Linked DNA regions of Homo sapiens: regions 1 and 3 are each linked to region 2. Evidence: promoter capture Hi-C in 16 types of primary human blood cells and fetal thymus (Javierre and others, 2016). All regions are on one chromosome and are shown on one strand. The core of a region is centred on a gene start or on the middle of the fragment in contact, and the rest is flanking DNA. Distances in the headings are between cores, read along the strand shown. Region 1 holds the start of PADI4 (peptidyl arginine deiminase 4). Region 2 holds the start of PADI2 (peptidyl arginine deiminase 2). Region 3 overlaps PADI4 (peptidyl arginine deiminase 4).

Region 1 (4,788 bases), core at 1,493-3,992, 190 kb before region 2:
TTTTAGTAGAGACGGCGTTTCACCATGTTAGCCAGGATGGTCTCGATCTCCTGACCTTGTGATCCGCCTGCCTCGGCCTCCCAAAGTGCTGGGATTACAGATGTGAGCCATTGCGCCCCGTCTAATTTTTTTGTATTTTTAGTAGAGACGGGGTTTCCCCATGTTGGCCAGGCTGGTCTCGAAATTCTGACCACAAGTGATTTGCCCATCTTGGCCTCTCAAAGTGCTGGGATTACAGGCATAAGCCACCGTGCCCAGCTTGCCACCTTTAATTTATGTGACCCTCGGTTAGGTGTTTTTGCCTCTTTTTTTTTGAGACAGAGTCTTACTCTGTCACCCAGGCTGGAGTGCACTAGCCCAATCTTGGCTCACTGCAACCTCTGCCTCCCGGGTTCCTGACTTTGGGGACAGAGAGAATGGCTTGAGCAAAGTTATGGAGGCATGAATATGAGGGGCGGAGGTGAGGAGGGAGTGGCCCTCCCACCTGTGTGGTTCAGGAAGAGGCCGATGGCTGCTCAGGAGATGGGAGGGAGGCGCTGTCTGGGGCTATGTTAAGAACAGATAAGAAGTGACAGGAAGGTCTGGAACGGAGACCCATGGGGAGAATGGAGGGTCCTAGAGTCAGGCTGCCTGGGTTGAGTCCTGGCTCCCCTACTTATTAGCTGTGTGGCTTGAGGTGGGTTACTTAACTTCTTGGAGCCTCTGTTTCCTCTTTTGTAAAATGGGAATAACAACATTACCTGCCTCCCAAGGCCATTGAATGAGTTGAATGTAGGAAGTGTGATGTAAATATTAGCCATTGTTACGTGAGATGTTCAGGGGATAGAGTGACAGGCTCAACGTGTGGCTGAAGGAGGAGAAAAGAAGGATTTAGAGGCCCCTGTGAACTCCGGAGTCCCCATCCTTTCTGGGAGAAATGGGCAGTGCCTTCCTCTCTGCCCAACACTGACCAGCTGTCCACCCACCTCTCTAGGGCCAGAGGAAGCACTTGTGATCTTGATTACTACTCATGGACGCTGGGTAGAGGGCTAGCCTGGGCATGCTGGGAGAGGCCCTGGGCTAGCTTCAGCTCCTGTCATTTCCTTCACACCCATTCTCAGAGGAGTTGGGGGCGCCTCAGATGATGTCAGGTGATTTTCTTTTTCCTTTTCTCCCCAACTTCTTGGTCTCCTGCCTCCACCATGTGGCCCTGGGAGACCATCCCGACATTTCCTGCTGTTCTCTGGCTGCTGGGGCTCAGGCAGTAGCAAAGAAATGTCCCCGGCACTCCTGTGGGCACCATTCTAGGGCCACCGATGCCCAGACTGGGATGGGGAAGCCAGGGGCAACCACTCCTATTCCTGACAACAGCAATTGTTGCAGGATAATTTAGGAATCAGAGAGACCGAGGGGTTGAGGAGGATTTATTATTTAGATTCACTGGCTCAGTCAGGCTAACATTTCAAAAGACTGAGCCCTGAACAAAGAGTTAAGTTATCTTTTAAGCATTTCATGGGGCGGGGGTAGATCTGTGCAGGGGGAAGCATATTATAGAGGCAAGAAACAAAGACAGTTATTTAATTGAGACATGCATTATATTATTTTTTACTTTTTAAGGAAAAAAATTTTTACAGCTTGAGTTTATCTGTCTAGTGACCTTGCAGCTGCACAGCTGGAGAAACAGGGTCTTTACAATGCCTGGAAAAAGAGGAGCAATAAGGCTCACTAGCCACAAAAAAACAGGCAGTTAATTTTTAAGGGACTCCAGCTCTTTTTTTTTTTTTTTTCCAGGGAAAATTGTTTTTTTTTTTTTTAACATAGAACTGAGTTTTTGCTTACACGTTTTAAAATTTCTTTTAATTCCTGTTCTACAATAACAACAATGACCCTGCACACTCCCCGAGAGCATTCCTCAACTCTCTTGTTTAACCCAGACCCTGCCACAGAGCATGGCACTCAGCATTTGTTAAATGAGTAAATAAAAACTACCAAGGATGGGCCCACCACTGTGCTAAGTACTCAGCCAACATCTGCACATTTTTTCACATTGAATTCCTATAACCAGCCCATGATGTGAGTATTATCCCCATTTCACAGATGAGGCAACTGAGGCTCAGTTGCCCAAGGCCTCCTTGCTAGCCAGCAGCAGGTCCAGGCTTCCTACCTCAGTCTCTGCCGCCACAGAGCCCCGTTTCGCCATCCCCACCCACGCTATTATGCACCCACTGAGGGAGGCTTAGCTAAGAGATGTGGGGTAACAAACTGTGCTGTGAACCAGGAGGCCCAGGGGCTAACCTTACTTCCAGGGCACACGTGCTGTGTGACCTTGAGCAAGTCACAGACTCTCTGTAAGCTTCTGTTGCCTCGATGAAGACAGGGAGATGGATGGCCTGGTTTGCCCCATAATAATTTATCTGTCGTGTGTTCCTGGGGAATTTGCACTTGTACATGGCAAAGAACCCACAGCCATGAGACTGGCACTTCCCAGGGCTGCTGGGGTCTTCTCTCTCCAGCTACTCCCCTGGCAGTGGCTGCAGAGGCTGGAGCCTAGAGCCTGGGCCAAACACATGCTCCTGTGTCAGTAGAACTGGGTCATCCAGCATCTCCTGACCTGCCTCCAAAACCCCAGAAGGCCCCCCTCTTACCTGCAGATGTCAAGCTGAGTCAAGGTGCCCAGCACACACACGGCATGGGTGGGCTGCTCTGGGGTCACACGGATCAATGTCCCCTGGGCCATCGTCGGGCTAGCTCGTCCCTCTGGCTGTAGGAAGCCCCTGGGCTGGTTCCTTTATATCGCCCAGCAGAGGCCATGAGTCAGCACCTGCGGTCTGTGGCCCAGAGGCTCAACCCCTCCCCACTCAGGTCAGGGGTGTGGGCTCTCAAAATCTCCTCTGCCCTGGGGCTGCCCCTCGGACCTCTAGATGGGTGTCAATGCTGGTACCAGTGGCAGGGTGGCTCTGTCAGTTTCTTGGGAAGGATGGATGGCTCAGAAAGCCTGGGGTGGAGAGTGGGGCTGAGGGGTTGGGTCCTGGTCCTCATGCCCACAGTCCCATCCCTGCCTAGAGGCCCTGAACACCTTGATCTATCCAATCTCACCTATGTCAAACAGGCATATCAGAGAGGAGAAGGTGGGAAAAGCGGGGAGATTTTAGGTAAGCAGTCACAGGCCAGGCTACACGTTCAAAGACCAACCAGGCTTGGGACAAGTCTCTCCACCTGGGCCACCCACATGACAGCTCACATTCTCTATGCCAGGCACGTTTTCCTGCACTTCACATAGAATAGCTCATTACGACAAACCCGTGAACTAGATCATACCATTATCCCCTTATTTCACCCTCACAGCAGCCCTCTGAGGTTGGTGCCATTATTATACCCATTTTACAGAGGAGAAAACAGAGGTGCAGTTCTTCCACAGCTCGAGAGTGGTAGGGCCAGAATTGGAACCAAAGGTGTCCAGTTCCAGAGTGTGAGATTCATTAGCTGCCTGTCTATATGACACGTGCTTTCCAGACTGTATCACAGCTACATCTCGCTACAATACAAGGTGTATATGGGCTTATTATTACAACCCATTTTACAGAAGGAAAATTGAGGCTCAGAGAGTAAAAGTGACTAGCTCTTGCCCAAGGTGCCAGAGCTAGAATGCGGCAGAGCTGGGAAGAGAAGATGAGCTTCCTGGCATGGAAGTTGATGTTCTCTGCATGCTCCAGGATACCTGCCTCTTGCCAGGGCCTCTGGGTGTCAGACCAGACAGTGCAGGTGTGGGCCACGCCTGCCAGGGGGATGCCCATGTGGCCTCAGAGCTGTGGTTGCACCTGGGCCATTGGTGCCAGGCTCTGCCTTTAATGAGGCAACTGGGGGGTGGTGGATGGGTCCCAACAAGGAGCACTCAAAGGGTGCATGCATGGGAGTCTGGCGTGAACATAGAGCGTTTCGTGGGTTGGATATCTTGCGTTTGTTTTTTGTTTGCTTGCTTTGGCTTTGAAGCAAAGAATTTGCCTCATTAATTCAGAGTCAGGCTGTGGGATCAAACAGGCTTTAGTTCAAATCCTGCCTCATCTCAACATCCCTATGGAGTGCGTCCTATCAGGATGCCCATGTGTAGATGAGACCACAAAGACTTAGAGAGATTGAGTGAGACCCCCAAGGTCTCATAAGCCCTACAGTGGGGATCTGGATTCAGACCACCTTCTCTGGGCTCAAAATTTATCTTCTGTACCAGCAGATGATGATGTGGCCAGGTCCGACGTTCTGACGCATCTACATGACTGCCTGCACACAGTGTTAATAAACCCAATTTCTCTGGCTGACCGCATGATTAGAACTAGTTTGAGCTTCTACTGGGAAGTGGCAGGAGGGAGCTGTCCATTGTTAGAGTTGGGAGGGCCCTTAGAGAACACCCAATCCAGTCCTCGTTTTGCAGAAGGGGAGACTGAAGCACAGAAAGGGAGTGGGACCTGCCCACGGTCACACAGCAAATCAGAGGGAGGGCTGGCCTCTACCCCAAGTCTTAGGTCTCTTGAGGTTGTTTTCTTCTGTTCCTTCTTTTCTTTCTTATTTTCTTCAGCAGTTTGGGGTTTAAATTTGCTGTGAACGAGCCACAAAGAGGACGAGCCCCAAAGCAGTTTTGTTAATTCAACAAATACTGACTGAGTGCCTATTGATGGCCAGGCACTGTTCCAGGCACCGTGGATACGCTGTGAACAAAGTGGACAAAAATCCTGCCTTCATAGAGCCTTTTTGTTTGTTTGTTTTTGTTGGGAGAGAGACAGCCAGTAAGCAATAAATGCAGTAAGTGGATTCTAT
Region 2 (4,814 bases), core at 789-3,288:
AGAAAGCAGTAAGTGCCCGCTCTTACTCCAGCTCCCCTGGGTATTGCGGTCTGATGTTATCACTATCTTGCCCAGTGTCCTGTTATGAGCTGCCCGGGGTCTCCGTCAGTGGGGGGTACAGTGTCCTCCCCCACTCTGGCCCCAGTCTCCCCATGAGTCAAATGAAAGTTAGAGCCCCAGGAAGGTGAGAACCCTGGTGGGTGCCCGTTATCTGTCACACAGTAAGGGCTCCAAAGTCACTCGTGGCAGAGGGGTGCCCAGACACGAGCTCACCTCTGGGGGCGCCTCGAAGTCTCTCCAAGCTACACAAGTTTTGTCCCAGTTTGGCAGGTGGCCACCCGAGAGATTCCTCCTGATTGGAGGATGTGCTCAGCCGGGTGCCTGGAGTTCATCAGAAGTTACTGGCCTCGGCCGGGCGCTGTGGCTCACGCCTGTAATCCTAGCACTTTGGGAGGCCGAGGCAGGTAGATCACCTGAGATCAGGAGTTCAAAACCAGCCTGGCCAACATGGAGAAACCCCGTCTCTACTAAAAATACAAAATTAGCTGGGTGTGGTGGTGCCTGCCTGTAATCCCAGCTACTTGGGAGGCTGAGGCAGGAGAATCAATTAAACCTGGGAGGCGGAGGTTGCAATGAGCTGAGATGGCGCCATTGTACTCCAGCCTGGGTAACAAGAGGAAAACTCTGTCTCAAAAAAAAAAAAAAAAAACAGTTACTGGCCTCTCCCTGGGTCTGTGAGCTGTGCCTTTGGGGGACAAATGACCTCCTGGCTAAAACTCGGGCCTTCCCTCTTCCCCACTCACATTCCTCCCAAATCCCTGCCACTCAGAAGCAGCTGGGCTCTTCACCACCTCCTAATTTGGGCCGCCTCAGGGAGAAGGTTGGAGTCCAAGGGCTGGGTATATCAGCACTGGGCACTTGTGGGCCTCACCCCTCTTGTCTGGGGGCACCCGTTCCTGGAGCTCCATCTTCCATCAGCTCTAACTCCTTCCCAAACACACATCCCCTCCGCCCCACTCCTTCCCTCCCACGGCCTCTGCCCACCCCCCCTCAGTTTCTGTCCTCACCTACCAAAGACCACTTCCTCACACAGGGCTGATGTATGTGTCTGAACAGCACTCCCACTGGGTCCCAGGGGAAGGGCTGGGACATGGGAGGGGCTGGCCGAGGCCCACACTGATTGTCATCCTACATCTCAGCCTCTGTGAGACACACGATGACCTCTGGGTGGCACCCCCCTTCCCTTGGTGGCCCAGGCCAGAACCGGGGCCCTAATCCTTACCCCTCTCCTCTCCCTCCACCCACACATCCTATCAGTCACCAGGTGCCACCAAAATCCCAGTCCCTAAGCAGTGGCCGGGTCAGTCCCCACCTCTCCAGCTCTGGCCACAGCCAGGGGCTTCCTTGCCCCTCCCCAGCCCAGAATGACCCATTTCACGAGCACACCCGACCACGGCTCGCGGAGACAACCACTCCAGGCTCCCATCTCCCACCCTCCAATGCCTTGGCTTGGCGTCCTGGTCTCCCTCAGCTGCCGGGTTCCCCATCCCCACCGCTTCCCGTTTTCTCTATGGTGAGGTTCATCTGACTGTTGGGGGATGGGGGTACCGGGCTGCACCCGGCTTTGCACAGGCAGCTCCCTCTCCTCGCCTTTAATTTGCAAACGCCTCCTTTAAGAAGGTTCCAGGATCGTCTTCTCTGGGAAGGCTTCCTGGCCCCCAGGCTGGGTTAGGGCACCCTCTTTGTGTTCCCACATTTGCATTTTCAGCCCCACTGGGCTGGGGCGTCCGGAGGGGAGCTAGGGCCCTCCAACACCTGGGCGCCCACCGAAGGTTTGTCGAATGAAAGAATGACAATCCAACCATGGAAAGCACAAAACTGGTCCCTGATGACTTCGCCACGACCTCAGCGGGGCGGGACGAGTTAGGGGCGGGACCACGCTTGACGGACAGGCCCGCAGCCCACTGCGAGAGGACTGGGGCGGGCCGCCCCGCCCACCGGCCGCTGGATAAGGCTGCGCGCGGGGCCGTGGGGCGCAGGCTGCTGGAGAAGGCGCACCTGCTGCAGGTGCTCCCGGCCGCCCCGGACCAGCGAGCGCGGGCACTGCGGCGGGGAGGATGCTGCGCGAGCGGACCGTGCGGCTGCAGTACGGGAGCCGCGTGGAGGCGGTGTACGTGCTGGGCACCTACCTCTGGACCGATGTCTACAGGTGAGCCGGCCCACCGTGATGCCCGGGCCGAGATCTCGAGCCCAGAAATCCTGAGACGCGCTCAGACTCGGGGACGTGGACAGCCTTTGTCCAGCCCGAGTTGTCCCTCATCCCGAGCCCCCGAGCCCAGAAATCCTAAGAATCTCATCCAGAAACCTGACAACCCCCGAACCTTGTGTCCACCTTCCAGAAACCCTGAGACTCTCCCAGACCCCCTAACACAGCCTCAGCCCCAGCTCCCTCACAGACCCTCCCTTTCACCCGTAACCCTCCGTCTGGCCCTCTCCAGTTCTCCTCCCGGGGGACCTCACACCCCTTCAGCTTCCCTGCCGTCCTCTCCCCTTTCACTTCCCCTCCGCACCTCACTTCCCCTCGGACCCACCTCAACCCAGCCCCTCTCCTGCTTCCCACTCCCAGTTCAGCGGAGCTTCCGCGGAGACTTGCCGGGGACTGGGGCAGGACCCGAAGGGAGCTGCCCTGAGGCTGAATCCGGCCCTGGAGGTTACTCAGGCTCCGATTTCGCCCTGTGGGGGCTGCTGGTGGTTGCTTGTCCCCAGGCACTGGCCCTGAGCTCCGTGTCCCCAGATACCTTCCCCTGACTTCATTCTGAGACCACAGAGGGACAATATTCTACCCAGCTGACGACGGGGACTTGGGGTGTATAGCGGGGTACTTTGTTGGAAAAGGATCCTGATTCAGAGTTCTGCTCCCTCCCCTTCTCTCTGTCCAAGAACTTGGTAGAGTGCGGGATGTCCGAGACAGCTGAAGGTAGGGTAGGGCCCTACCACTCCCCCCGCAATCCCAGAAAGCAGCCAAGTCCAATGATCTGTCTCCCTGAGTAATGGGACGGGGCCTTGGAAAGGTGTGGCTGGTGTGAATGAAAGGGTGGGGTTATGCTGGGGTTTGATCTGCCCCCTCTATTCCAAGCATTTAAAACCTCCCCATTGCTAGGGTTGGAGGGGTCAGTGCTGGGGGCAGGGAGCATGCAGGACTCTGAGGTGGGACCCTGTGCTGACACCGGATGAGTCCCCTATCCTCTCTGCCTCAAGCTGAACTCACACGGAGGCACCATCGTGGTTTATGGCTCTCAAATCATCCTGACACCTGGAGCACCCTGCCTCTCCCAGGCCCCCACCAACCCATCATGTGTCTCCCCACACAGCCCTGGCAGCCCTCCCACCTGCCCAACCAGTCTCCTGCCACCGCTGCAGAGGCACTGGCCACGCTGATACCAACAAGCCCCAGGACTAGGGACCCACTCCATGCCTCTGTCCCTGGCCTCAACCTCTGCCTTCCCCTGGGCCTGGGCTTCAGTTGTCCCCCATGTAAACCTCAGAGGTGGACTGGGTGGTCTCTGAGAACAAGAACACAGCAGTGGAGGGTGGTCCAGGCTCTGGTGGGGTGCAAGAGCTCCCCTGCCTTCCCCACCCCCAGCCCTGAACTGGGCACCGCTAGGGAGTGGGCGCGGAGCCAGAGTGCTCAGGTCTCTAAGCCTCAGCTGTCACCATACCCACCTGTTTATTTGCTGGGGCATGGTTGGTGCCGCCTGAAAAGCTGGCATGATCCTCCCAGTCGGGGGTGGGGAGCAAAGGAGGGTTCCTGCTCAGGCGCCCTGCTATCGCTCTATCCTGGCAAAGAGAGGCCCAGCTGGGGTAGGGGCACAGAGTGGGGCAGATATGGACTCAGCCTCCCTCTAGCAGGGGGCAGCAGTGTGACGATTCCCCTTGTCCTGTCTCAACGACCACAAAGACCCTAACCCCCACCGGCACTTAAGGTTCTCCACCACCACAGAGAGGGGCAGTGCGCTCTAGACCAGTACTGTCCAGAAAAGTCCAGTTTGAACCACAACAAAACCACAATTGCATTTTAAATCTTCTAGTAGTCCACACTTTTTTAAAGTTAAAACAACAGGCATAATTTTAATAATATATTTTGTTTAACCCAATATTTTAGAATATTATCATTTCAACATGCAATCAATATAAAAATTATTAAGGAAATGGTTTACCTTCCTTTTTTCATGCTAAGTCTTTGTAATCCAGTGCACATTTTACACTTCAGCACATCTCAGCGTAGATTGAGTGCATCTCAGGTGCTCACTGGCCACCGTGAGCCAGTGACACCGGGACAGAACAGGTCTAGTGCAGAGTTTCTCAATCTCGCACTATTGCATTTTGGGCTCGATATTTCTTTGTTGTAGCGGGATGTTTAGTGGCATCCCTGACCTCTGTCCCCTAGATGCCAGTAGCAACCCCCAAATTGTGACAACCAAAAATGTTGCCAGACAGTGCCAGCAGTCCCCTGGCAGGGGGCAAAATCACAGCCAGCTGAGACTCACTGGTCCAGTGGAAGGAAGCCTCTTCCAGGACTAAGGAGCTTGAGTTGTTACTGCTATTGTGACTCGAGTTACCTGTAGTAATGAGAGCAACTGCCAGTATTGATAACAGGAGGAGGTATTAGTGGGCACTTAGGAACTGAACCCACCACCTCCTTTCTTCCTCACCATAGACCCTGGAGGGTTCATTGATCATCCCATTTTACAGATGAGGAAGGTAAGGCTCAGAGAGATGAAGCCATTTGTCCAGAGTCACACAGGACTCAGGTC
Region 3 (4,374 bases), core at 705-3,204, 240 kb before region 2:
TCACTGCAACCTCCACCTCCCGAGTTCAAGCGATTCTCCTGCCTCAGCCTCCCCAGTAGCTGGGATTACAGGTGCGCACCACTGCGCCCAGCTAATTTTTGTACTTTTAGTAAAGTCGGGGTTTCATCACGTTGGCCAGGCTGGTCTCAAACTCTTGACCTCAGGTGATCCACCCGCCTCAGCCTCCCAAAGTGCTAGGATTACAGGTGTGAGCCACCACACTTGGCCTAGTTTAATATTTTCTTGTTTTTTTTTTTTTTTTTGAGACTGAGTCTTGCTCTGTCACCCAGGCTAGAGTGCAGTGGCACATTCTTGGCTCACTGCAACCTCCACCTCCCGGGTTCGAGTGATTCTCCTGCCTCAGCCTCCCAAGTAGCTGGGATTACAGGCACCCGCCACCACGCCCGGCTAATTTTTGTATTTTTAGTAGAGACGGGGTTTCACCATCTTGGCCTAGCTGGCCTTGAACTCCTGAACTCGTGATCCACCCGCCTCGTCCTCCCAAAGTGCTAGGATTACAGGCATGAACCATCGCGCCCAGCCTAGTTTAGTGTATTTTAATAGCACACTTACAGGAACAGCACAGAAAACAGACAACATTAAAAATATCTACTTGCATGCAGGACAGACAGCTCAGAAAAGTATAGTGAATGGATGGAATCTACTGTGTGATAAAAATGCTACAAGTACCATTTAGTTGCTGTCAATAAGAAATGTCCTTGTTTTAAGCCAGGCGTGGTGGCTCATGCCTGTAACCCCAGCACTTTGGGAGGCCGAGGTGGGTGGATCACCAGGTCAGGAGTTCGAGACCAGCCTGGCCAGCATGGCAAAACCCCATCTCTACTAAAAATACAAAACATTAGCCAGGTGTGGTGGTGCACACCTGTAATCCCAGCTACTCGGAAGGCTGGGGCAGGAGAATCACTTGAACCCGGGATGCAGAGGCTGCAGAGAGTCGAGATCGCGCCATTGCACTCCAGCCTGGGCAATAGAGGAAAACTTCGTTTCAAAAGAAAAGAATGTCCAGAAAAATTTAACAGGTTTACTTATAATTATTATAAAGTTGAACCATGAAACTTGTTCACTGGAACATTTTGCCTTGCATTAACGCTAAATTATCTTATCTCCAAAGAGATCCCATCGAGAGAGGAAGAAACAGGTCAGCCCTCTCCTGATGCCACACAACATACTCAGATCTGAGGTGGAGCTCTCAGCCACAGAGGCATCTCAGCCCGGGGCCTGGCCCATGTCTGTGAGCTCTGCTGAGAGAGTAATATTTCATCTGTGCTCCAGCTATACCGAACCTCCCCGAGGTCCTCACACACATCGTGCTTTCTCCTGCCTCTGAGCCGCCCCACCCCCGTCCCTCTGCCTGTGGTATCTCTCTTCCTCTCATTTCCCTGCCCCGTTTGCCCAGCCAACCCCTACTTGCATGCTACTGCTTGGCCTCTGCCTCCTCCAAGAAGCCTTCCCTGAGCTCCATCCACTCAGACACCCCTCAAAGCCCCTGTGTTGGAGCTGTTCTTTTGACTCACTTCCCCCTGGCCTGTGAGCCCACAGGGCAGCAAGCTGTTCTGCCCTGTTCATGCAGTCTCCCTAGCACTTGGCACAGTGCCTGGCGCACAGTAGGTGCTCAGATGCTACCCTATTGCCTGGATGATTCCCTCCAGGCAACAGCGGACTATGGGAAGCAGGAAGGTGCACAGACAGGAGAACAAGGCAGGGCCGACTTACTCTTGATCCCTTCGAACAGCAGGGCCTCCCCGTGGCCCTCATTCTGCTGCTCCTGGAACAGTTTGTAGCAGGACCTGGGGCTGGCCAGGAGCAGCCGGAAGCCCTGGAGGCAGAAACACTGGGGTTAGAAGTCAGCTTTGCCCCTGGAGCTCCCAACGAGGGTGGATCTGCTGAGGGTGGGAGTAGTGTGGACTTGGACCCAAGCTGGCCACCTCCTCTACTGCCATCCTAAGGGTGAAGGAGAAATAGACAAGTAAAGTTGCTCCCACCCCAGGCAGAGGGTCTACCCAGGAAGGAGGCATGGCTTCCTGAGGCAGCCCCCAAGACTGTACCTTCCTGTCGGGTGCTGGCACAAAGCTCAGGAACTCGTCCACGTGGCCCACGGACAGCCAGTCAGAATAGAGCTTCACAGGGGCCTGCACCTGCTGGGCACTGAGGAAGTCCTGCAGGGCCTGGTGCATCTGCCGGCTGTCATTGCTGTCATGGCAGGGTTAAAGGGGTGTTATCGGCAGCAAGGGCTACAGGGAAGTCCCTGAAGGACAAGGGGCTTGGCAAAAAGGTCAGGGTTCTCCTTCAGCTGAGAAAGGGATGCAGGAGTCTAGAATGCCTTTATTTTATCCCCTAACATTTGAGAAATCAAGGAATTGTCATTCTAGTTTTATTGGGGGAAACTGAGGCACAGAGTCACTAAGGTAAGTAGAACAGAGCTTAGCCTCAGAAAGCACTGCCTCTTGAGTTAGATGAGATGCTGGTATTCTGGGTACACATGGGGCTTAGAGCCAGTCTGACCTAAGTCGGTGATCTCTTGTTAGCCATGTGGCCTTGGGGACATTCCTTCACCTGTTTGAGCCTCAGTTTTCTCCTAAAAAAAAAAATTAGTGTTGCAGTGCCTTGTTCTTCCTCACTTTTTTTTTTTTTTTTGAGACAGAGTCTTGCTCTGTTGCCCAGGCTGGCACAATCTCGGCTCACTACAACCTCCGCCTCCCGGGATCAAGCGATTCTCTTGCCTCGGCCTCCCGAGTAGCTGGGATTACAGGCATGCATCACCAGGCCCAGCTAATTTTTGCATTAGTAGAGACGGGGTTTCGCCATGTTAGTCAGGCTGGTCTCGAACTCCTGACCTCAGGTAATCCACCTGCCTTGGCCTCCCAAAGTGCTGGGATTACAGGTGTGAGCCACTGTGCCCAGCCTCTTCTTGTTCAATAGGTTCTAGCCATCCTGGCCTTGCACGCAGGAGCTCATTCCTGCCTCAGGGCCTTTGCACATGCACTTTCATTTGCCAGGAACTCTCTGTCCCAGATCTCCAGGTGGCCCTGTCCCTTCTGTCATTAGGCCTCAGTTCAAAAGCCCCTTCCCCAGAGAGGACCTCCCTGGTCACCCTAACAGTTCCTATTCCTCCCGTGCCCCTCTCTTTTGTTTTTGTCATTTGAAGTTATCTTGTCTACTTTTCTATCATCTGTTTCCCTACTAGAGTAGTGGTAAGGACTTGTCTTTCTTGTCCACGGCTGCATTCCCAGCTCCCAGAACATTTTGGATGCTCAGTAAATATTCACTGACTGAAAGAGGGTAAGTGGCAGGGCTGGAATTGAACTTGGGTCTATGGGCTCCAAAGCCCGCATTCCTCACCCTGCGCTTGGATTCCTCTCACACTCCCTCAAGTCTGTTGGGCTGTCTAGAATCGGAAGCAGGAAGGCAAGGCTTCCACTCTGGCCTCTGCTTTTCTACGGCATACCTGGGTCCTGGCCACCCCTTCCTGTTACTCCCCTCCTTACCTGGGATAACAGCTGTCCCCGAAGAGAATCCTGCCCAGCGGGTATTCCTTGCCCCTGACTGTGACTGGGGGGCTCACTTCCAGGTTCCCAAAGGAGTCCAGTCCACTGATACCCCCTGTTTGGGGCCCTCGAGTTACATAGCCAAAATCTGGACCCTGAGATAGGAGAAGGGAGTGCCAAGAGTTAGAGGAATGAGGTCCCTGGTGAAGGGTCGGGGGGTCCAAGTTTAGAGATGAACTTGGGCACAGGAAGTAACTCAGTACCGTCTACAGCTGGCACATAGCAGGTGCTGTTATCACATGTGGAAGGTTAAAGGAATGTTGAGTTCATTCAATGGACAAGAAAAGGGACTAGCATTTGTTGGGTCCCTAAAGCGTGCCAGCTGCTTGGTAAACCTTAACTTGGGCATAAAACAAATCTGTAAAACATCATTTTTTTTCCCCTTAAGACAGAGTCCCACTCTGTTGCCCAGGTTGGAGGGCCGTGGCATGATCTCAGCCACTGCAACCTCCGCCCCTGGTTCAAGGAATACTCCTCAGCCTCCTGAGTAGCTGGGACTACAGGCACGCCCCACCACGCCCAGCTAATTTTTGTATTTTTTTTTTTTTTTAGTAGAGATGGGGTTTCACCATGTTGGCCAGTCTAGTCTCGGATTCCTGACCTCAAGTGATCCATCTGCCTCGACCTCCCAAAGTGCTGGGATTACAGGCATGAGCCCCCACGCCCAGCCACATTTATTCTCTTAAAATTCTGGAGGCCAGAAGTGTGAAATCAGTTCCACTGGGCTTAAGTCCAGGGATGGCAGAGCTGGTTCCTCCTGGAGGCCCTGAGGAAAGAATCTATTATATTTCCGTGTCTTTTTCAGCTT

The links. Contacts are between HindIII fragments. The CHiCAGO score rates a contact against its expected background, and 5 or more counts as called.
Region 1: the fragment with the promoter of PADI4 here is called in contact with the fragment with the promoter of PADI2 in region 2 in 7 of 17 cell types (neutrophils, monocytes, megakaryocytes and 4 more); the score reaches 16.2 in neutrophils.
Region 3: a contact is called between a fragment that was not itself captured here and the fragment with the promoter of PADI2 in region 2, in 7 of 17 cell types (neutrophils, megakaryocytes, erythroblasts and 4 more). The highest score is 15.7, in neutrophils.

Annotation. Positions count from the first base shown.
Region 1 is chr1:17,306,151-17,310,938 of GRCh38, reverse strand. It overlaps PADI4 (peptidyl arginine deiminase 4), which reads right to left and starts at 2,742. Exons shown (of 16, transcript NM_012387.3): 1 at 2,625-2,742. The coding sequence starts at 2,716. The HindIII fragment of the contact is 10,543 bases long and covers 2,335-4,788 here.
Region 2 is chr1:17,116,675-17,121,488 of GRCh38, reverse strand. It overlaps PADI2 (peptidyl arginine deiminase 2), which reads left to right and starts at 2,038. Exons shown (of 16, transcript NM_007365.3): 1 at 2,038-2,209. The coding sequence starts at 2,118. RefSeq lists an enhancer at 913-1,447 and a silencer at 2,019-2,228. The HindIII fragment of the contact is 8,283 bases long and covers 1-4,814 here.
Region 3 is chr1:17,353,820-17,358,193 of GRCh38, reverse strand. PADI4 (peptidyl arginine deiminase 4) reads right to left here. Exons shown (of 16, transcript NM_012387.3): 11 at 3,507-3,661; 12 at 2,067-2,211; 13 at 1,735-1,837. Among named protein-coding and RNA genes, the nearest start is that of PADI6, 16 kb to the left of the region's middle. The HindIII fragment of the contact is 6,300 bases long and covers 1-4,374 here.